Regions from separate parts of the Homo sapiens genome. Here all the other regions are linked to region 1. Evidence: promoter capture Hi-C in 16 types of primary human blood cells and fetal thymus (Javierre and others, 2016). All regions are on one chromosome and are shown on one strand. The core of a region is centred on a gene start or on the middle of the fragment in contact, and the rest is flanking DNA. Distances in the headings are between cores, read along the strand shown. Region 1 holds the start of EDN2 (endothelin 2). Region 2 has its middle 77 kb from the start of GUCA2B. Region 3 has its middle 5.6 kb from the start of GUCA2A. Region 4 has its middle 52 kb from the start of GUCA2B. Region 5 has its middle 35 kb from the start of GUCA2B.

Region 1 (2,700 bases), core at 173-2,672:
GGTTGGAGTCGCAGTGACTCCAGGTAGACTCAGCACGCAGGGACTGGCAGGGTTCCCGCCCTAAGCAAGTGTTTGGATGCGGATTAGCTTCACACACGCTTACGTGCAGGGCTTCTCTTGCCTTTTGCAATTTGGGGAGGGGAAAAAATCACAAACACACACAGAAACTTCAACTGAAGGTATGCAGTGGCCTGGAGGCAGTGCGGGTGCAGGCGGAACAGACAGCACGGGGCTCCCACCCGGGTGTAGCCAGTAGCACAGGGCAGGTTCTCATCTGTCGTTTGAGGGACTATCCTGCCTTATGGGGAGGATGGGGGGGCTCCTGAGATGATCATGCACGTGCAGTGCTTGGCAAAGAGCCTGGCATAGTCAAAGCACGGGTGCTGTCACTAATCGTATTATTATTGGAAGAGCATGCAGAGGCAGCATGACAGAGACTGTGAGCTCCGGCATTCCCCAACCGAGGATGGTGCCTACCCTTACAATTACCTGTGTGATCTTGGGGGAGGCGCTTAAGCTCTCTGAGCCTCAGCACTTGAATCTGGAAAACGGGGCCAACACTTGCTTACCAGGCTGTCTTAAGAATTCTCAGAAGACAGCCCTCTCTATGGCTCAGGTGGTCCCCACTCAGGAATTGAAACAATTAACTATTGATATTAGCCAGTGCCTCCATCTGGAGGCCCAGGGAGAGATGGAATGTGTCAACGTTCCCTAGCATGCCAGTAGCTTCCACCCTGACACCCTGCCCCAGAGCTCCCCCTGCCCCCAATCCCCATGGATGCTCACTCAGGAGTGTTCACCCAGATGATGTCCAAGTGGCAGAAGTAGACGCACTCCTTGTCGAGCCAGGAGCTGCAGGAGCAACGGCGAAGCCGAAGGTGGGTGCCTTGGGCATGAGATGAGGACGCTGGCTGCTCCAGGGTGGCAGCAGCCTGGCCCTTCCCTGCATGCACAGGAGGGAGAGAGAGGTGGAGAGGTGGGTTGGGGTGCCTGGCACATCCCAGAGTGGGGGACCCACCATGCCCCTCCTCTTGCATAATCGAGGGAGTTGGCACTCTTGCTGCTCAAGAGCTCCAGGCCAGCCCAGGGAAGTCCCAGCAGCCCGTGGGGAGCCTGGGCACCTCTGTATTTGCAGAACCTTTCCCCTGCCACCACTGCCGCCAGGCTCCCGCCCCTGTCTGCCCCCAGCTGGCTTGGGAGGCACTGCAGCCCTAGAGGGAGACAGAGATAGGCAGACCCAGGAGCTGTAGGCAGCAGGTGAGGCCAGGGCAGCTCACCTTCATGCAGGGCCACGAGCAGGGCTAGCGCAACGGAGCACCAGGTGGTAGGCACGGAGACCATAGCGGCGGTGGAGCGCGCAGGCTGGACTGGAGCAGGGAGTGCCTGTTGCCAGCGTCCTGCTATTAAGCTGAGCAGATAGCTCATTGCCTCGGTGCCCTGGCTGCCTCTTATACCAGGCACGGTGCCCCACCCCTTCTGGTCCAGCCCTGCCCCGCTGCACCGGCGGGCTGGGAGCCAGGGACACCGCCTCCTCCCCGGGCGCCTGGCCCGACCCAGCCTCTGCAGTGAAGGGGGGAGGGAGATGGAAGGCCCATTCCTCCCTCTGTGCCTGGAGCACCTCTGGGAGTCCTGAGGCTCCCTGGCAGTCCCCAGGGGCCCCTCGCAGTCCAGCTGGACTTCCTCAAGTCACCCCCAGCTGCCCCGAGCCCCCTCCCTCACTCTGTTGGCGGCTGCTCCACAGGTCTCGCCCAGGGCTGTGAGTGTGGAGGAGGAGGTTCCATGAGCAAAACCCCTCTCCTCGGAGAAGACTCTGCCATCTATCCTGCCTGCCCTCTGCCAACCAGGCTGAGGATGCCCCTCTGTTGTGTGGGATGTGAAAGGCCCACGCAAGGCTGTGTGGCCTTGGGCGAGTCAGAGCCCTCTCTGGGCCTGCCTCCCTCTGTGAAGGACACAGCTCATGCCTGACTTCTGACCAGCCTGGAACTGCTTCATCCCCACCTCACCCAGGAAATGCCCCCCTCAACCCCTGCCCTGTCACCCCAGGGCCTGGGGCAGGAGTTCTAGTCCCTTCCAGAAGCTGTTCAGCTATGCAGCCATGGCCAAGGGCATCCTTCCTGGGCCTGTTTCCTTGTTTGCAAACAAGGCCAAAACAAGAAGGTACTTCACCTGCTTGGCTTACAGGCTCCTTTGAGACTAAGAAGGTGGCTTCAGACCCCTTTCCAGAAAGATGTCCCTGAGGACACACACACAAAGCGCCCCTTGAACAGTCTCCTGTCCTGGCCATGACAGGATGTCTTGGCTTCCACCGGGGGCTACTGTCTGCAAAAGAAGTAAGCCAGGGGACTTCTCTGGGGACTGGCATTCTGCTCCTGCCCCTCTGCTGGCCCAGAAGCCTTGCCGGGGAGGGGAAAGCAGGGATGAACCACAGCTGTGCTGAGCAGCTCAGGGAACCGGCAGGCACCCTCTGTTCCTGCCCTGGCTGAGAGTCCACTTCCTGCTGGAGTCTTCTCAGGGACCCTGTCTCCAGGCACAACAGGAAAGGCCCTCTCGTTTCTTGGAATTCCCAGGGCCTGTGCCTCTCGTGCCTGCCTGACTCATCCCATTGCACTTATCTCCCCTGCAATCTCAAGGTCCAGAGCCCCAGAGGAGGCAGGGCCTGACACCTACCCTGCACACAGTAGGGGCCTTGCGAGTGCTTCC
Region 2 (2,707 bases), core at 101-2,600, 590 kb after region 1:
AAGTATCTAGTAGTACGATTGCTGAATCATATGGTACTTCTACTTTAGTTTTTTCAGAACTCTCCATATTGATGGCTGTACTAATTTACATTTCCACTAGCAATTAATAAGTGTTCCCTTTTCTCAGCATCTTTGACAGCATCTGTTATTTCTGTCTTTTTGATAATAGCCATTCTAACTGGGGTAAGATGATATTTTACTGTGGTTTTGATTTGCATTTCCCTAATGATTACTGATGTTGAGCATTTTTTTCATATTCCTGCTGGCCATTTGCAAGTCTTCTTTTGCGAAATGTCTGTTCAGATCCTTTGCCCACTTTATAATGGAACTATTTGGTGTTTTTGCTGTTGAGCTGCTTGAGTTCCTTGTATATTCTAGATATTAGTCCCTTGTTGGATGAATATTTTCTCCCATTCAACAGGTTGTCTTCAGTCTGTTGATTGTTTCCTTTGCAGAAAGGTAAAACCTCTGCAAAAAACATAGTCCCATTTGTCTATTTTGGTGTTTGTTGCCTGTGCTTTTGAGGTCTCAGCCATAAAACCTTTGCCTAGCCCAATGTCTTGGAGTGTTCCCCATGTTAGTAGATATGTAGTTTGGGGTCTTACATTTACGTCTTTAATCCATCTGGAGTTGATTTTTGTACATGTGAGAGACAGGAGTCTAGTTTCACTCTTCTGCATATAAATACCCAGTTTTACCAGCACTACTTATGGAAGAGGTTGTCATTTCTCCAATGTATGTTCTTGGAGTCTTTGTCAAAAATCAATTGGCTGTAAATACATGGATTTATTTCTGGGTTCTCTATTCTGCTCTATTGGTCTCTGTGTGTGTTTCTATACCAATACCATGCTGTTTTGGTTATCATAGCCTTGCAATATATTGAAGTCAGGCAGGGTGATGCCTCTGGCTTTGTTCTTTTGCTCAAGATTGCTTTGGATCTCTTTTTGTTCCATACTAATTTTACAGTTGTTTTTTTCTATTTCCATGAAAAATGTCATTGGTGTTTTCATACAAATTGCATTGAATCTGTAGATTGCTTTGGGCAGCACAATCATTTTAACATTACTAGCTTTTTGATCCATGAGCATGGGATATCTTTCCATCTGTTTGTGTTCTCTTTAATTTCTTTCATCAGGTGTTTTGAATCTTCCTTGAAGAGATCTTTCATACCCTTGGTTAAATGTGTTCCTAGGTATATTTTTTCTGTAGCAATCATAAATGGGATTGCTTTCTTGGTTTCTTTCTCAGATAGTTTTTTTAATTGGTGTATAGAAATGCTACTGATTTTTGTATATTTATTTTGTATCCTGAAACTTTACTGAGTTGTTTATCAGATCTAAGAATATTTTGGTGAAGTCTTTAGGTTTTTCTAAATATAAAATCATGTCATCTGAAAGAGAGAAAATTTGACTTCCTCTTTTCCGATTTGGAAGGGCTAGGACTTCCAGCTGTATGTTAAATAAAAGTGGTGAAAGTGGGAATTTTTATCTTGCTCCAGTTCTTTTAGCTTTTCCCCATTTAGTATGATGTCAGCTGTGGGTTTTTCACGTATGGCCTTTATTATGTTGAGGTAAGTTCCTTTTACGCTTAGTTTGTTGAGAATTTTTATCATAGAGAGATGTGAAATTTTATCAAATGCTTTTCTGTATCTGTTGAAATGATCATATGGTATTTCTTCTTCATTCTGTTGATGTGGTATGTCAAATTTATTTATTTGCATGTGTTGAACCATCCTTGCACCCCTGGGATAAATTACACTTGATCATAATGTAGTATCTTTTTGATATGTGGATTTGGTTTTCTCATGTTTTGTTGAGGATTTTTGCATCTGTGTTAATCAGGGATATTGGCCTGTAGTTTTCTTTCTTTTGGTGTGTCCATGTCTGGCTTCAGCATCAGAGTGATACTGGCCTCATAGAATGAGTCAGGGAGAATTCCCTTCTCTTTAATGCTTTGGAATAGTTTAAGGAGAATTGGTGTTATTTCTACTTTATAAGTTTGGAGGAATTCAGCAGTGAAGCCATGCAGTCCTAGACTTTACTTTGTTGGAAGAATGTTTATTACTGATTAATCTTGTTACTTGTTATCGGTCTGTTTGGGTTTTTTATTTCTTCCTGATTCAATCTTGGTAGGTTGTATGTGTCCAGGAATTTATTCATTTCATCTAGGTTTTCCATTATGTTAGTATATAATTGTTTAAAATAGTGTCTGATGATCTTTTACATGTCTATGATACCAGTTGTAATATCTCCTTTTTCATGTCTGATTTTGTTTATTTGGGTCTTCTGTCTTCTTTCCTTGGTTAGCAGTTTATCAATTTTGCTTATCCGTTCAAAACAGCAATTTTTTTTGTTTCATTGATCCTTTGTACTGTTTTTTCAGTCTCTATTTTGTTTAATTCTGCTCTAACATTTATTATTTCTTTTCTCATGCTAGTTTGGGGTTTTGGTTTGTCCTTCCTTTTCTAGTTCCCTAAGGTGCATCATTAGATTGTTTATTTGAAATCTTTCTACTTTTTTGATGTAGACATGTATTGCTATAAACATCCCTCACCACTGCTTTTGCTGTATTCTATAGGTTTGGGTATGTTGCATTTCCATTTTAATTTGTTTCAAGAAATTTTTTAATTTTCTTCTTAATGTTTAAATTGACCCAGTGGTCATTCAGGAGCATGCTCCTTAATTCCCATGTATTTGTACAGTTTCCA
Region 3 (2,700 bases), core at 112-2,611, 690 kb after region 1:
CATTCAACCAGGATCCCAAAGGACTCCCTGGAGTGGACCCAGAAGGAGGGACTTAAACCTGGGGTGCTGTGGCTTCAAGGGCTCAGGCTTCGGAGCCAGGCAACCCTGTATTAGAATCCAGTGTCACCGGCCAGGCTTGCGATGGCTCATGCCTGTAATCCCAGCACTTTGGGAGGCAGAGGCGGGTGGATCACGAGGTCAGGAGTTCAAGACCAGCCTGGCCAACATAGTGAAACCCCGTCTCTACTAAAAATACAAAAATTAGCTGGGTATGGTGATACATGCATGTAGTTCCAGCTACTCGGGAGGCTGAGGCAGGAGAATTGTTTGAACCCATGAGGCAGAGGTTGCAGTGAGCCGAGATCGCACCACCACACTCCAGCCTGGGCGACAGAGCGAGGAAAAATGCTCCATGACCTTTCTGAGCCTCAGTTTCTGCTTTAAAAAATGGAGACAATAACAGCTAGATTGCAAATTTCAGTTTTTCTGGAAGACTCTCCTAACTGACCCCAGCCCTGGCAAGCCCGAGTTAAGACCATTTCTACTCCTCTGAGCTCCACCAGCCTCCTACACCTTTGCCATCACAAAACTTAGCAAATTGTCTGTCTAGCCTACTGCCCTGGGAGCTGCTTGAAAGCAGAGACTGTGTCCTACTCAACTGAGGCCCTGTACTCATACAAGGCCTGGCACTTAGTAGGTACCACTGAGTCTTTAAAGAATGAGGCAGGTTGTAATGTTTGCAATGATCATCACATTAATGACAGCAGCTAATATTTGTCAAGACTCACCCTGTGCCAGGCTCTGGCCAAGTGCTTTACAAGTGTGGAAGCCAGTCTTGCTCCCTAAAGCCCCGCCACCCCTCACCCACTTCCAGAAGCTGCAGAGGTTCTGCCCTGCTGTTGGGGCAGCCCTCCAGTCTCTGTGAAGATGCTGATGTTTGATTCTTGTGTCTAGGTGATCTTATCATGGCTCCTGTGTGCACATTAAAATTGGGACCATTAAGCCTCAGTCCCCCCATTCCCACAGGCCCAGAGGCCTAATCGGACCTCAGCAGGAAGGCCTGGAACAGAGCCCAGGTGGGAACCTGAAGACTCCAATACAGATCTGTGTAACCTTGAAAGGGGTGTGGTCCACAATACACAGCCTCTCCAACCTGCTTGTAAATGTGTCTTGGAGGGTGTAACAATCTCTGGTTCCTATAAGAATCCAGAACTGCCTGAGGCAGACATTACAATATATGTGAACCTCCTGACAGCACTGGAAACACCTAAGAAATAACTACATAACCCTATTTTATACATGGGTAAACTGAAGCTCAGAGAGGTTAAGAAAGTATAATTTTCCCAAAGGTGCATACAGGGATGCTGTGTACAGTTGTATTGGTTGTGCACTGCACAAGGGTACCCGACCAACAGAGAGCATAAGTGTGGACACAAGCATGCGACTACCTCAGCCTAGAGGAAAGCACAATACTTCAGACTCATTGCCAGGTGGACTGGGTGGCAACTGTGGTCACGTAGCTAGAAATCCCAGAACAGAATCCATTTCTTTCAACTGCCAAAGAAAAGCCTAAAGTTCTATTGAGTCCATCCCATTCCTCTGCACTGTCTTCCTGGTCCCAAACACCCATTTTTGCCCCCTTCTAGGGAAAAGGAAAAAGAAAGGAGTCGCCACTGAGTCAGACCCTGTGAGGTAGGTCAATGATGTCCATCTTAGAGGATGAAACTGAGGCTCTCAGAAAGAGTGCTCAATGTCACACAGAAAGTGGATGGCTGAGTTGGAATTGGAAGCCTTTTGGCTGAAGCCCAAGTCCAGGCTAGGGTGGAGGGATCTCTCCCCCACCCCCAGGCCCTGGGTGGCCCGGCTCTTTCCCTTGATGCTCCAGGGGGCAGCTGGGGAGTGGGCAGGGGGCGTGCCTGGCTGTTTGCTCAGCGATGTCATCTCAGGGCCCTGTGGCCTCACCAGGAAGAGGCGGTGAAGAAACTCCGTTCACCATCTGCTCCCCCTCAGTGGGACAGCAGCTGCAGCCTTCTCCCGCATCCCCCAGCCTGCTTTGGGCATTGGCCACCAAGACAACCTCCCACACCCAAAGGCTGACAGGGAAGGAGAGCACAGCTGGAGCTCCCTCCACCTGCCCCCATAGAAGACGCTCGCAGAGCCCACAGGCTACAGGGAGGGTAGGGCATGGGTACAGACTCCCTGGGATGAGGGAGGAACAAGCCGAGGCTACCAGTCCTCCTGGCACCAGATCAGAGAATGCTTTACCTGACAAGGTGGCATTTGCAACAGGTCTTGATCAATGGGAAGATTTGGACCCATCGAGGGGAGAGCCGCGAGGCAAAGGCCTGGCAGCAGGAAGCATAAATGGCAAAGCGGGGGCGGCTGAGGTGAAAGCAGAGGGTGTCTCAAGGACTCATGGGCCAGCAGCCCAGAGAAGGCGGCTTCACACACTGGGCTGAGGAGTTTTGCCCTTCACCTGGTGACAGCAGGGAGCTACAAGAGTTTTCAGAGTAGGGGAGGCCTTGGTAAGAGTCATGATTCAGAAGGAGTGCCCTGGCACTTGGCGTTAAAAGTGGACTGTCTAGCGATGGCTGCTGCATGGGTCCAGGAGAGGTCTGTGTTCCACCCCTGGCAGTGCCCCAGAAGGGCAGGGGGTGGATTGGAAGCATAGAATGGCAGGAAAAGCAACTGGTCTTGGCA
Region 4 (2,700 bases), core at 29-2,528, 620 kb after region 1:
AATTAATATTAATCTTTCACAAATTATTCCAAAAACTAAAAGAGAATGAAACACTTTCCAATCCATTCTATGAGGCCAGTATTATACCCTGACACGAAAACCACATAAAAACATCACAAGGAAACTGCAGACCAACATGGCTTATAAATATAGACACAAAAATCCTCAACAAAACACTAACAAACCAAATCCACAAAATATTACATAACAGGATTATACACAAGATCAAGTGGGATTTATTACAGGAATGATAGTTGGCCCAACATATAAAAATCAATCAATGTCATGCACCATATTAATGGAATAAAGGATAAAAACCTCATGATCATCTCAATAGATGCAGAAAAAGCATTGACAAAACTCAACACCTTTTCATGATTAAAAAAACACTAAGCAAACTAAGAATAGAAGGGAACTTCCTCAACCTGAAAAAAGTTGACTACGAAAACCCACAACTAACATCATACTTAATAGCAAAAGACTGTAAGTTATCCTCCTGAGATCAAAAACAAGACATAGGATGTCCACTGTCACCACTTCTACTCAACATTTCACTGGAGATTCTAACTATGGCAATAGTCAATGGAAAGAAATTTTTTAAATTCACATTGGAAAAGACATAAAACTCTCTGTATTCATAGATGACGTTATTCTATAGACAGAAAATTTTAAGGAAGCCACTAAAAAGCAAATAGAGCTAAAAAACAAATTCAGCAAGGTTGCAGGACACAAGATCAATATAGTGAAATTAACTTTATTTCCACACATCAGCAACAAAAAAATCCAAAAAGGAAATTAAGAAAACAAATCTATTTATAATTACATCAGAATGAATAAAACAATTAGAAATAAATTCAGTAAAAGAAGTATAATATTTATATGATAAAAGTTACAAAAGATCATTGAAAGAAATTAAAGATCTAAATAAATGGAATGGCATCCCATGTTACAGGATGGGAAGCTTTAATATTATTAAGATGGCAATATTTCCCAAATTGATCTACAGATTCAATGCAATCTCTACCAAATTCCAGTTGTCTTTTTTGAAGACATTGAAAACTGATCCTAAATTTATATGGAAATATAAGGGCTGCAGAATAACCAAAACAATCTTGAAAAAGAAAAGCAAGTTCAGAGGACTCACGCTTCTCAATTTCAAATGAGCCAAGACAGTGCAGTGCTGGTGTAAGAACAGATACAAAGATAAACAGGATAAAAATAAAGAAGGGAGGAGGGGAGAGGGGAATTGGGAGTGACTGCTAATGAGAACGGGTTTATTTTTGGAGAGTTGAACATCTCTGGAATTAGATAATGGTTGCATAACTTTGTGAAACCATTCACAAAGTTTTCTCCATTCAGCCCAAATTGGAAAAAAACAAATATCAGTGGTTTAAAAAAAAAACCACTGAATTGTACACTTATAAAGGGTAAATTTTATGGTATGTGAATTATGTCTCAGTTCAAAATGAATAAATGAGTTTAATAGGTACATAATTTCAGTTTTACAAGACAAAAAGAGTTCTGTGGATGAATGGTGGTGAAGATACAACAATGGGAATGTGCTTACTGCCACTAAACTGCACGCTTAAAGATAGTTAAGCTTAAAGTAGTTAAGATAGTATATTGCGTGTTATATGTATTTTACCACAATTAAAATAAAGTCATTAAATGACTGAATGATAGAGAAAAATAGTGAATTTAGCAAGGCCAGTGCATACAAAATCAATATGTTTTTTAAATTTTATTTATATATACCAGCAACAAGCCTTTAGAAAATAAAATGTTAAATGACGAGTTAATGGGTGCAGCACACCAACATGGCACATGTATATATATGTAACAAACCTGCACGTTGTGCACATGTACCCTAAAACTTAAAGTATAATTTAAAAAAAAAAAAAAGTTAAGAAAAATACTATTTACAATAGCATCACAAAACAAATCAACCTAGAATTCGATTCAAAATAGATGTGTAAGACCTCAACCCAAAAACTCAAAAATATTGTTGAAATATGTTAAAGACTGAATAAATAAATGGAGAAATATAATATATTCATGATTAGACAATATTGTTAAGATGTTCACTCTCCCTCTATAGATTCAAAATGATCCCAATAAAATCCCCAGATGGTTTTGATTTTTGTGGAAATTGACAGGCAGACTCTAAATTTTTATTGAAATGCAAAGAGTCAAGGCAATTTTGAAGAGAAAGAAGAGCAGAGCTAAAGGATGTATGCTATCAGATAATGAAACTTATTATAAAGGTACAGGAAATAGGACAGTGTGGCATTGGAAAATAAACATAGACAAATAGACCAAACATAAACTATCTATAAACAAATTCGTGCACATATGGATGCTAGATTTAAGACAAAGCTGCCAATACCACCCAATAGGGAGAAGAACGCCTTCTTAGAAAATGACATAGGACAAGATCTTTATGACCAAAAGATTGATAAATTGGACTATGCTAAAATGAATAACTTTCTTTCTTCAAAACATGCCATTAAGGGAATGAGAAGCCATGGAGTGGGAGGTATTTACAAAAGAGAGCTGATAAAGAGCTCACAGTCATGTATATTAAAAGTCCCTACAAATCAGTAAGAAAAAAGACAGACAATATAATAGAAAAATGGGCAAGAGACTTGAATAGGCACTTCACAAACAAGGATAATTTCAAATGGCCCCCAAGAAACCTAT
Region 5 (2,700 bases), core at 190-2,689, 630 kb after region 1:
TCCAAAGACTGAGCCCTGGGCACCACAACATTTAAAGCCTGAGGTTGTGGAGACGCTAATGAAGGTGACTGAGAATGGGTGGCTTTTTAGTGGAATATTAAGGAGATTGGGGTGTCCTGGAAGCCAAGGGGGAAATGTGTTTCAGGAGAACAAAGAGATCAGCTGTGTCAAATCATACTAAAAGGTCAAGTAAGATGAGGACCAAGAATTGACCTCTGGATATGAATATGTGGAGGTCCCTGATGATCTTGGTGAAATCAATGTCTTTGAAGGGGCAGAGAGGGTTCAGGGGATCAGGGGAGAAGAGGAAATGGAGACAATATGTTACGCAATTCCTCAATGAGTTCTGATGCAAAGGGAAGAAAGGAAGAGAGACGTTTCGGCATGTTTGCATGATGATGGGAAGGATGGAGTAGACACAATTGACAATGGATGCAGGAGAGAGGGGAGATCAACAAAGGAGCCGGGAGCATTCAAATGCATGAGGAGGCTGCGCTCCATTGCACCCATGGTCAACTTGGTCATAGATGGGAACACAAATGCTTCATCCACGGGAAGGAAAGGAATGGCAGAGCGGCAGGTACAGATGCTGGAAGGTGCTGCCGGTGGCGCAGGGAGGTCGCAGAAACTCTCTTCTGACAGCTTCTGTTTTCTCTGAGAGTAAGCTCACAGAGCAGGTGCTGGAGTTTGGAGACAGATGAAGAGGCATGAAAGAGGAGAGCAGACTGGGGACGGACGAGGGAAAAGCCCCACTCACTGAAACTGGAGAACAGTGGGCTTAGAAAACATCCCAATAAAGTAATTTGCAAAAAGAACAGCAGAATTGAAAGGGGTGAGGGACAAGGGTAGAGTGAAAACTGCTATGTCATTTTGGATAAGTCAGACAATAAGAGCCACAAGTACTAGCCTTGTAGGTGGAGGGGCGATTTGAGCTGATTTACTGAGAACAGTGAATTTGAGTATTTATCGAGAAATTAATAATAATGCCAAGTACTTTACATTAACTAGTTTATTTAATCCTAACAAAACCCAAGTAGCTATTTGTATCATCATCACCAAGCACAGAATCATCTGCTTTAGGTCACACAGATTTAATGGTAGAGCTGGTACTGAATCCAACTCAGTCTGGCTCTAGTGTCCCCACTTCTAAGCTCTCCTTCAACCTACCAGTTAAAAAGTGCTTGAGAAGCTGCGGTCTTGATGTCAGCAAATGGGAATTCAGCAGAGCTTACTGGCAGGATGAGTTCCATGTGGACAAGGCTGGGTAGTCCACCAGGGCACACTTCACTCACTTGTGAAGGACAGAATAAAAGGATATTGTCTCTTTAGAAACAGTGGACTTTCCAGAAGAATTGTATAACTCATGAATATAACTGTTCAGGGTCATAAAGGCACAAAGCCACACACTGCATTTTCTTAAAGCAAAGCATATTTATATTTAGAAACAAACTGCAAAGAGCCAGTGTAGGAAAATCCAGAGGAAAAAGTGTACCCAGGGGCCTATTGTTCATGAAGAGGAACACTGACTACTCCCTGAACTTTGTTAAATATTCAGGTTATTGATATTATAATTCTACTAAGCTAGCATCATTTTAAACCTGAAATCATTAACATTCTTCTCAGTCACCCAAAATGCATACAAAATACAAATCATAACTGATGGATTTAGTAAATTAGGTTTCCACAAGCACTCAAAAACTGACTACTAACTTAGTCTTCTGAGGTGTTCAGGATCATAACTCTCATATCAGATTCTCCTAAATACCTTAAACACCCCCAAAATATCACAATTGTTTAAAGTGTGATTATTACTATTATATTAAAACTATTTACAGAAATACTAATGCCCCTGACTTAAATTTATTTCTCGGTCATCTCTATTTTTATCTTTTACCTATTGTTATTCTTGTTTTTTCCCTGTTCTGGGGGGTTACCTCCTAGAATTGTAGTAATTTTACCAGCTCTGATATATACCTCCTCTGCATAATGCAGTAGCCAATAGCCATTTAAATTATTTAAATTAATTAAACTAATTAAATTTAAATTAATTAAGTTTAATTTAAAATTCAGTCCCCGGCAGTCACATTTCACGTGCTCAATAGCTACATATAGCTGGTAGCTACCATATGGGCAGTACAGATAAAGAAAATTTCCACCATTGAAGATGGTTCTTTTGAACAGAGCTCATCTATACCTTCTTCGGGATGTAGTCATCTTACTAGACTCAGAAGAAGAAACAAACACCATCTCAGAGGAGCTAAGTTTGCAAGTTCTGGGATGTCAACCTATTAGCTCTCAGTTGAGAAACAGGACCTGGTTGCACAGTGCAAGGAGACTCAAACCTGAGCCTCTATTCATTGGCCTAATCTTCTTGTATAATAAAGTTTCACTCATTGCATCAATAGGACTTATTTCATGTAAAATTTGTAATTTTGACATTTGGTATCTTTCCCAGATATGATATACTCTTTAAGTCTCACAAGCTCAGAATTACCTTATTAATTGACTGTCATTGCGATCTATTGACCCACTCTGTGAGTAGTATTGAAATTTTAAGTAGACTTCATCAGACTCTCATTATAATTAGCTAGAACAGCTAGAAGAGAGATAGAATCTGTGCAATGATTTCTGCTGTTTGAAAGACTTGGTTAATTTATCATCTTAGAACTGAATTTGGTCGTACTGTAGACGACCATTGAT

What was found. Contacts are between HindIII fragments. The CHiCAGO score rates a contact against its expected background, and 5 or more counts as called.
Region 2: a contact is called between a fragment that was not itself captured here and the fragment with the promoter of EDN2 in region 1, in 1 of 17 cell types (neutrophils). The highest score is 5.1, in neutrophils.
Region 3: a contact is called between a fragment that was not itself captured here and the fragment with the promoter of EDN2 in region 1, in 1 of 17 cell types (neutrophils). The highest score is 6.4, in neutrophils.
Region 4: a fragment that was not itself captured here is called in contact with the fragment with the promoter of EDN2 in region 1 in 1 of 17 cell types (naive B cells); the score reaches 5.1 in naive B cells.
Region 5: a contact is called between a fragment that was not itself captured here and the fragment with the promoter of EDN2 in region 1, in 7 of 17 cell types (M2 macrophages, naive B cells, neutrophils and 4 more). The highest score is 6.7, in M2 macrophages.

Annotation. Positions count from the first base shown.
Region 1 is chr1:41,483,261-41,485,960 of GRCh38, forward strand. EDN2 (endothelin 2) reads right to left here and starts at 1,423. Exons shown (of 5, transcript NM_001956.5): 1 at 1,278-1,423; 2 at 787-943. The coding sequence starts at 1,341. RefSeq lists an enhancer at 2,530-2,700. The HindIII fragment of the contact is 6,202 bases long and covers 1-2,700 here.
Region 2 is chr1:42,074,962-42,077,668 of GRCh38, forward strand. No RefSeq gene overlaps it. Among named protein-coding and RNA genes, the nearest start is that of GUCA2B, 77 kb to the right of the region's middle. The HindIII fragment of the contact is 7,081 bases long and covers 1-2,707 here.
Region 3 is chr1:42,169,006-42,171,705 of GRCh38, forward strand. No RefSeq gene overlaps it. Among named protein-coding and RNA genes, the nearest start is that of GUCA2A, 5.6 kb to the left of the region's middle. The HindIII fragment of the contact is 3,327 bases long and covers 1-2,700 here.
Region 4 is chr1:42,099,653-42,102,352 of GRCh38, forward strand. No RefSeq gene overlaps it. Among named protein-coding and RNA genes, the nearest start is that of GUCA2B, 52 kb to the right of the region's middle. The HindIII fragment of the contact is 639 bases long and covers 960-1,598 here.
Region 5 is chr1:42,117,071-42,119,770 of GRCh38, forward strand. No RefSeq gene overlaps it. Among named protein-coding and RNA genes, the nearest start is that of GUCA2B, 35 kb to the right of the region's middle. The HindIII fragment of the contact is 6,007 bases long and covers 1-2,700 here.